2 separate regions of the Homo sapiens genome follow, and region 2 is linked to region 1. The links are contacts of gene promoters, found by promoter capture Hi-C in blood cells and fetal thymus (Javierre and others, 2016). All regions are on one chromosome and are shown on one strand. The core of a region is centred on a gene start or on the middle of the fragment in contact, and the rest is flanking DNA. Distances in the headings are between cores, read along the strand shown.

Region 1 (3,510 bases), core at 585-3,084:
TGCATCAAGAAGACCCAAGATGAAACGTGGGCAGGTGTCACTGAGAAGATTGTGTGTTATGTCATTTTCATGCTGATTCTGATTGAGCACTTTGCAGAAATGCTTGGCCATATTCCCAGCCACTGGATATGGCAACCATGAATTGTTCTGGAAGCTCACAAAGTCTGATCCTTGATAAGCTAACTGCAAGAAGCTTCCTGAGACCTTTCCAGAGTGCAGCTCACAGCCTCCTGTCACCTGTATCTCAAAAGGATCTGGGGTTATGAAATAGAGGAAAGAGGGAGAAAAAAATATAAAATGAAATGAGTAGAAGCAAAGATTATAGAAGCAGAAGGGGGAAGTGTGCAGGGTTTGACATAATGGAATAAAATTTGGTTTGGTCAGGGATTCAGAGAAAGAGGAATTGGTGGGAGCTGTAGGTGGAGGAAAAGATTAATAACATGAGGAAGAGGGCAAACTGGTCAAAGAAGGTGATGTGAATGCTGTGGGTGAGCAAGGACCTGGTGTAAGAGAACTGGGATTATAACAACTTAGGTTGAATTAAATGCAATGGGTTACAATTGAGTATATATAGAGAGACTGCTGAAGAGAATGAATGAGAAAGTGAGAAAGCTGAAGGTATCTGGTTGTAGGGCAGGCAGAAGGGTGGTCCTGGGATACCTGTAAGAAAAGATAATAATGCACAACCCTGCAATCAATGAGAGAGGAGTTCATAAGTAGCAGAAGTGTTTGGAGAATTAAGGTCTGGATGATAGCCCTTGCCCAAAAGTATGCAATTGCAGTTTTATGGTGGAAAGAATAGAATAAGATACAGAAGAGAGTCAGGCTGTTTCCTAAAGGAATAAGAAACATTGAGACAACCCCTCTCTCCCACCTCACCACTCTCCATGGAGAAAACTGAACTCACATTCAAACTGCAATTCATGGGCGTATCTACGAATTCCCTCAAATGACCGAATGGTGCGTATACGGAATAATGTTTCCAGTTCCTTCCACTCCTCATTGCTGAAGTTTCCCCTGGACCAGGGGCACAGGAAAACGATGGTGCTGGAATTGCTGTCCCAGGTATGAGTCTGCAAATCACTCAGCCAACCTGAGACCAGATTTTGTTTCCAGGAATGGTTGTAAAAGGATGCGATCCAGGTGACATGGAAGGAGAGAGGCTCCTTGAGCCCTGCGACAAAAGAACAGATAGAATGGGGAGAAAGACATTGAGAAAGAGGATGGAGAGAGAAAGGTGCCAGAGTGCGGGAACTCAGAATCTGGAGAAAAGGGGATCCATCATGATCTTAGCAGACATTCACTTGCCACACAGTCCCATGCCTTATCAACCACCTTCATAAGAGCTCAGGGACCTGGAGTCATGGATAGTCAGAATGGAACCAGCCTGGCACTCTCACTTTCCAGGTATATGCTAGGGAAACCACACACACACACACACACACACACACACACACACACACACACACACAGAGAGAGAGAGAGAGACCTTCACCCACCACCCAACTGGGCAGTTGTCAGAGTTCTTACCGTCTGCATTGCCATCACCTGGGAGAACAGCTAACAATGGAAGTAGCAAAAACAGCATATCATTTGCAGATGTTATTTCCTTCTCTCAGAAAAATTGGTCTTTGATTTCTGTTCCAAACAAACCTACCCCACGATATCTCTATTCTGACTTCTTTCTGCAGCCAACAGACAAACCTCCCCTGACTGCAACAAAGAAAATCCACTCCTTCAAAAACCCTGAGATGCCTACTCAGTCTCTCATTTCCCTCTGGTTCTGACTCTCCTCTCTGTTCCAGCTTCTCTCCTTGTCACCAACCTCCAACTTATTCACCTTCCCCTAATTCAACTGCTATGGAACAAGTCTGATGTGGCATTGAAAAGCCACTTAACCACTAAGGACATTTTTTTCTCAATCATACAATAAGAGCATAAAGTGAAATGGCTCCCAGTGTGCTGCCCAATGCTCCCATGTCCCTGCTCTTTTTGATCACTCTGTCCTTTTCAATATTTTCCCATGTATTCTCTTCCCCTGTCTCTTCAGCCCCTTACTACATTCACATTTCTGATTTAACATTGATTTATTTGCTTTTTCAGAGTCTCCTACGACTGCCCTGTGCGACAGTACAAACTAACACCTTTTCTCCATTATTCTTAGAGAAGAGCCAGTAACCATCACAAAAAAAAAAAAAAAAAAAAAAAAAAAAAAAAAAAAAAAAACCACAGGAACACTAAAACATATAAAGAAAATTTCCTCTGTTTGATTTTCATTGATATACATTCACTCACCCAACAGTCTCTCTTAGCACCTGCCTGGAGTCAAGCATCTTGGTACACTTAAGAATATGCAGTGGTTGACAACACAATCACTTTACTGAAGGAGCTTTTTCTCTACTTAGGGAGAAAAACACGCCATGAAATATAAATCTTGGTGTACTGAGTTTTATTATACTGTATACACTCTCTGGATAAAAACAAGGCCTGCTTGAAATAATATTTTCTAAAATGGGGGCTCCTAACTAATGTACGCCAGCCCAGAATTTTGACTTCAATGTTTGACTTGGAGTGTTAGTTCCATACAGTTATCATACTGTATCCCCACCTAACAGAGTATCTCACAAGTGGTAGGTGCTTAGTGAATATTTGTCAAATGAATGAATGAATTCAGTCTATGCATCCATTTTTTAATTATGGAGGTGATATTCAACATGAAACTTTTTAAAGATATCATAAAAGTTACTTGTAACCCTATGTAGTGAGATGAGAATCTCATACAGTTTTATTTAGGATAAAAGTACAAGTTACTGGCATGAGATTTACATAAAAGATCCTGCTATAAATGTCCTATTACTTATAAGAAACTAGTCAGAACTTGTGAGCAGTGAAGTTAATGGAGTATTCCAAAGTCTTTATCCCAGGATCCCTTTTTATTAGTCCTATTTGGATGTTTCAGGGTTGTTTTGTTATAAATGAGTCTTTGCCGGACACATTTACATTCCTCTTTTACGCTGCTTGTAACTGTTGAAGGGCTTCTAAATATATGTTTGTGCTTTGTAGATATCATCCATATAAATGTGTCTGGGCTATTTACTATTTTTTGGTTTTCAAAAAAAAAGTATCTGAAGCTAATTTAGGGGGAAAAAATTTTTTTTCTTGAGACAGGGTTTCACTCTGTTACTCAGGCTGGAGTGCAGTGGAATAATCATAGCTCACTGTAACCTCCAACTCCCGGCCTCAAGCAATCCTCCTGTGTCAGCCTCCCAAAGTGCTGGGATTGTTGGCATGAGCCACCAGGCATGGCCTGCAAATAATTTTTTTATTTGTTTTTTGTTTTGTTTTGTTTTGTTTTGTTTTGAGACAGAGTCTCACTCTGTCACCCAGGCTGGAGTTCAGTGGCATGATCTCAGCTCACTGCAACCTCTGCCTCCCAGGTTAAAGCAATTGTCCTGCCTCGGTTTTGCAAGTAACTGGGATTACAGGTATGCACCACCATGCCTGGCTAAC
Region 2 (3,510 bases), core at 728-3,227, 42 kb before region 1:
AACAAAGCTGGAGGCATGGGAAGAATGTATATTCTTTTGGTTTTGGGTGGAGCGTTCTGTCAATGTTTATTAGGTCCATTTGGTCAAGTGTCGAGTTTAAGTTCCAAATACCTTTATCAGTGTTCTCTCTTGATGATCTATCTAATGCTGTCAGTTGGGTGTTGAAGTCTACCACCATTATTGTATGATAACATAAGCTTCTTTGTGGGTCTCTAAGTACTTGTTTTATGAACCTGTGTGCTCCTGTGTTGGGTGCATATATATTGAGGATAGCTAAGTCTTCTTATTAAATTCAACCCTCTATCATTAAATAATGTTTTTCTATGTCCTTTTTGACAGTTGTTGGTTTAAAGTTTATTTTGTCTGAAATAAAAATAGCAACCCCTGCTCTTTTTTCTTTCCTGTATGCTTGACAGATTTTTTGCCATCCTTTAGTTTTGGCCTATGGGTGTCCTTGCATGTGAGATGGGTCTCTTGAAGATAACTTACAGGTGGGTCTTGTTTATTTTTTTTTTTTTTGTCTTTTTTAACGTGAGACAGGGTCTCACTCTGTTACTTAGGCCGAAGTGCAGTGGCATGATCACAACTTACTGCAGCCTCCACCTCCCCAGGCTTGGGTGATCCTCCTACCTCAGCCTCCTCAGTAGCTGGGACTACAGGCATGTGCCACCATTCTTAGCTAATTTTCTTGGTTTTTTTGTAGAAATGGGGTTTTTCCATGTTGCCTAGGTTGGTCTCAAACTCATAGGATCAAGCAATCGGCCTGCCTTAGCCTCAAAGTGTTAGGATTACAGGCATGAGCCAGGGTCTTGTTTCTTTATTCAACTTGCCACTCTGTGTCTTGGGGTGTTTAGCTCATTTACCTTCAAGGTAAATATTGATAAGTGAGAAGTTGATTTTGTCATTATTGTTAGCTGGTTGTTATGTAGACTTAATTGTGTAGTTCCTTTATAGTGTCACTGGTCTGTTTACTTAAGTGCATTTATGTGGTGGCTGGTAAGAGTCTTTTATTTCCATGTTTAGCACTCCCTTAATGACTTCTTATAAGGCAGGTCTGGTGGTAATAAATTTCCTTAGCATTTGCTTTGCTGAATTTCTCTTTAACATATAAATCTTACTTGGGCTGGATATGAAATTTTGGGTCAGAATTTCTTTTCTTTAACAATGCTGAATATAGGCCCTCAATGTCTTCTGGCTTCTAAGGTTTCTGCTGAAAGGTATGCTGTTAGCTTGATTGGGGTCCCTTTGTAGGTGACCTGCTCCTCCTCTCTGGTTGCCTTTAGTATTTTTTTCTTTCACATTGACCTTGGATAATCTTATTATTGTGTATCTTGAGGATGGTTTTCTAGTGTAGTATCTCTCAGGAGTTCTCTGAATTTCTTGAATTTGAATGTTGACCTCTATAGTGAAGTTGAGAAAATTGTCATGGACAATATCCTCATATATGTTTTCAATTGTTTGCACACTCTCTCTCTCTCTCTTTCAGGGACATCAGTGAGTACAGGTTTGGTCTCTTTACATAACCTCATATTTCTCAGAGATTTTGTTCATCCTTCTGTATTATTTTTTCTTTATTTTGTGTGACTGAGTTAATTAGAAGAACTGGTCTTTGAGCTCTGAGATTCTTCCCTCAGTGTGGTCTATTCTGCCTTTAATACTTCCAATTGTATTATAAAATTCTTTAGTGAATTTTTTAGCTCTGTCAAATCAGCTTAGTTCTTTCTTAAAATGGCTATTTTGTCTTTCAGTTATTGTATTATTTTACTGGATTCCTTAAATTCTTTGGATTCCATTTCAACTTTCTCCTGAATCTCATGATTTTCATTGCCATCCAGATTCTAAAATCTATGTCTATTATCTCAGCCATTTTAGTCTGGTTAGGAAAGATTGTTGGGGAGCTAGTGTGTTCATTTGGAAGTAAGAAGACACTCTGACTTTTAGAGCTGCCTGAGTTCTTCCACGGGTTCTTTCTCATCTATGTGGGCTGATGTTCCTTAAACGTTTAAAGTTGCTGTCCTTTTGATGGGGCCTTTTGCTTTTATATTCTTTGATGCCCTTGAGGCTTTGACTATGGTATAGGTTTGGGTCAGTGAGCTAGCTTTATTTCTTGATGATTTCAGGGGGCCATGGCTCAGCTCAGCACTCCTGGGCTATATGCTCTAAGACTGAGGGCCTGGGACCAGGCCCAGAACCTTGTTCTTTGGCCCCTTGAGACTGAGCACCTGCTTCACTGGAGGGGGCCAAGGTGCTCCCAGTCCACTAGCAACAACACTCCTATGGTGGGCAGGGTGGGGGGGTCCCAGAAAAGCATTTCATAAGGGCAGTGGCGGTGGGGGTCTGCTCTCACATGCATGTACTGGCAGCAGTGGGGCAGTGGCATGGTGGGGTCCACACTCACTCACATGCTGGTGGTGGTGGGGCAGCAGGGTAGAAGGTCCATGCACATGTACACCAGGGATGGTAGTGTGGCAGGGTACATGCACGCATGTAGGCTAGTGGGGACAGTGCAGCAGTGGTGAGGTCTCCATGCATATGTGCACAGAAGTGGTAGCAAGGCAGTGATGTCTGTGTATGTATGCCAGCAAAGCAGTTGTGGGTGCTGAAGGCAGGTGCATGCTGATGTGAGGCCAGTGACAGAAGCTATTTGGTGGTTTGGTGGGGTCAGCCAGTGAAAGACCTATGGCAGTGGTCTCTGAGAACTGCCTCAGTTGAACATCTGAGGCTGTGCTGCAAGCAGGTACAGACAGGCAGGGATCCTGGGAGAGGCCAGCAGACATGGGGTGGGGGGCTCAGATCAGTCTAGCCCCATCCAAATATCATGGTAGCCCTATTCTGTCCAGGTCTGATAGTCAACAAAGGGGTCAAAGCCACCTAGAGGAGCATGCCAATCCTCGGGTAATGGACATCCCTAACCATGCTCCACTGTAGCTGTTCTCACACCAAACCCTCTGGGTTCCATAGAAGCTGGAGTCCTGTCCCTGCCAACTCTGCAAGTAGCTTTCCCTGCCAACTCAAATGTCTGTGTGGGTCGTGGGGGTCTCCTGCAGCTAGGATTCCAGAGGTTCATGGATAGAGTGGGCCACTTCATGCCTATTTAACCAACCCCTTCCCTAGAAGCCACTGAGGACCAAGAATAAGTCCTAGTGTTTGGCAACCCTGTGTAGGGTTCGCAGCTTCTTCCCCCCTTCAGCCCAGGGTCTGCATTCTCCCTCCATCCACTCTCAATGCCTTCTTTCCAATGATCTTCTCAGAGTATACTGCTCTTCTTGATGGTCTTGTCTCTTGGTGGGAGAAGCTCTTCCTGGCTGCATCTAGTCAGCCATCTTGTCTCTTCTCCCAAAAATAAGTTTAATTTTATATATTTTTGGCTTTATTTCCCAGTTTCCTGGGTGTCCTAGAATCCTCTCTATTGATCTCTCTGTATCTGCAGGTCACAGGGTGACTAAGGGTGCAGGAGAGTCACCTAGGGCCTCCTGGTGCCAAGGAAATGAGCAATGGAAGCAGGACCCA

The links. The method cuts DNA at HindIII sites, captures the fragments that hold promoters and counts their contacts. A CHiCAGO score of 5 or more calls a contact.
Region 2: a fragment that was not itself captured here is called in contact with the fragment with the promoter of CD1A in region 1 in 1 of 17 cell types (fetal thymus); the score reaches 6.6 in fetal thymus.

What each region holds. Positions count from the first base shown.
Region 1 is chr1:158,252,748-158,256,257 of GRCh38, reverse strand. It overlaps CD1A (CD1a molecule), which reads right to left and starts at 1,834. Exons shown (of 6, transcript NM_001763.3): 1 at 1,531-1,834; 2 at 908-1,174; 3 at 1-254. The coding sequence starts at 1,588. The HindIII fragment of the contact is 5,152 bases long and covers 196-3,510 here.
Region 2 is chr1:158,294,959-158,298,468 of GRCh38, reverse strand. It overlaps a transcript of CD1B not described here. Among named protein-coding and RNA genes, the nearest start is that of CD1C, 6.8 kb to the right of the region's middle. The HindIII fragment of the contact is 3,555 bases long and covers 200-3,510 here.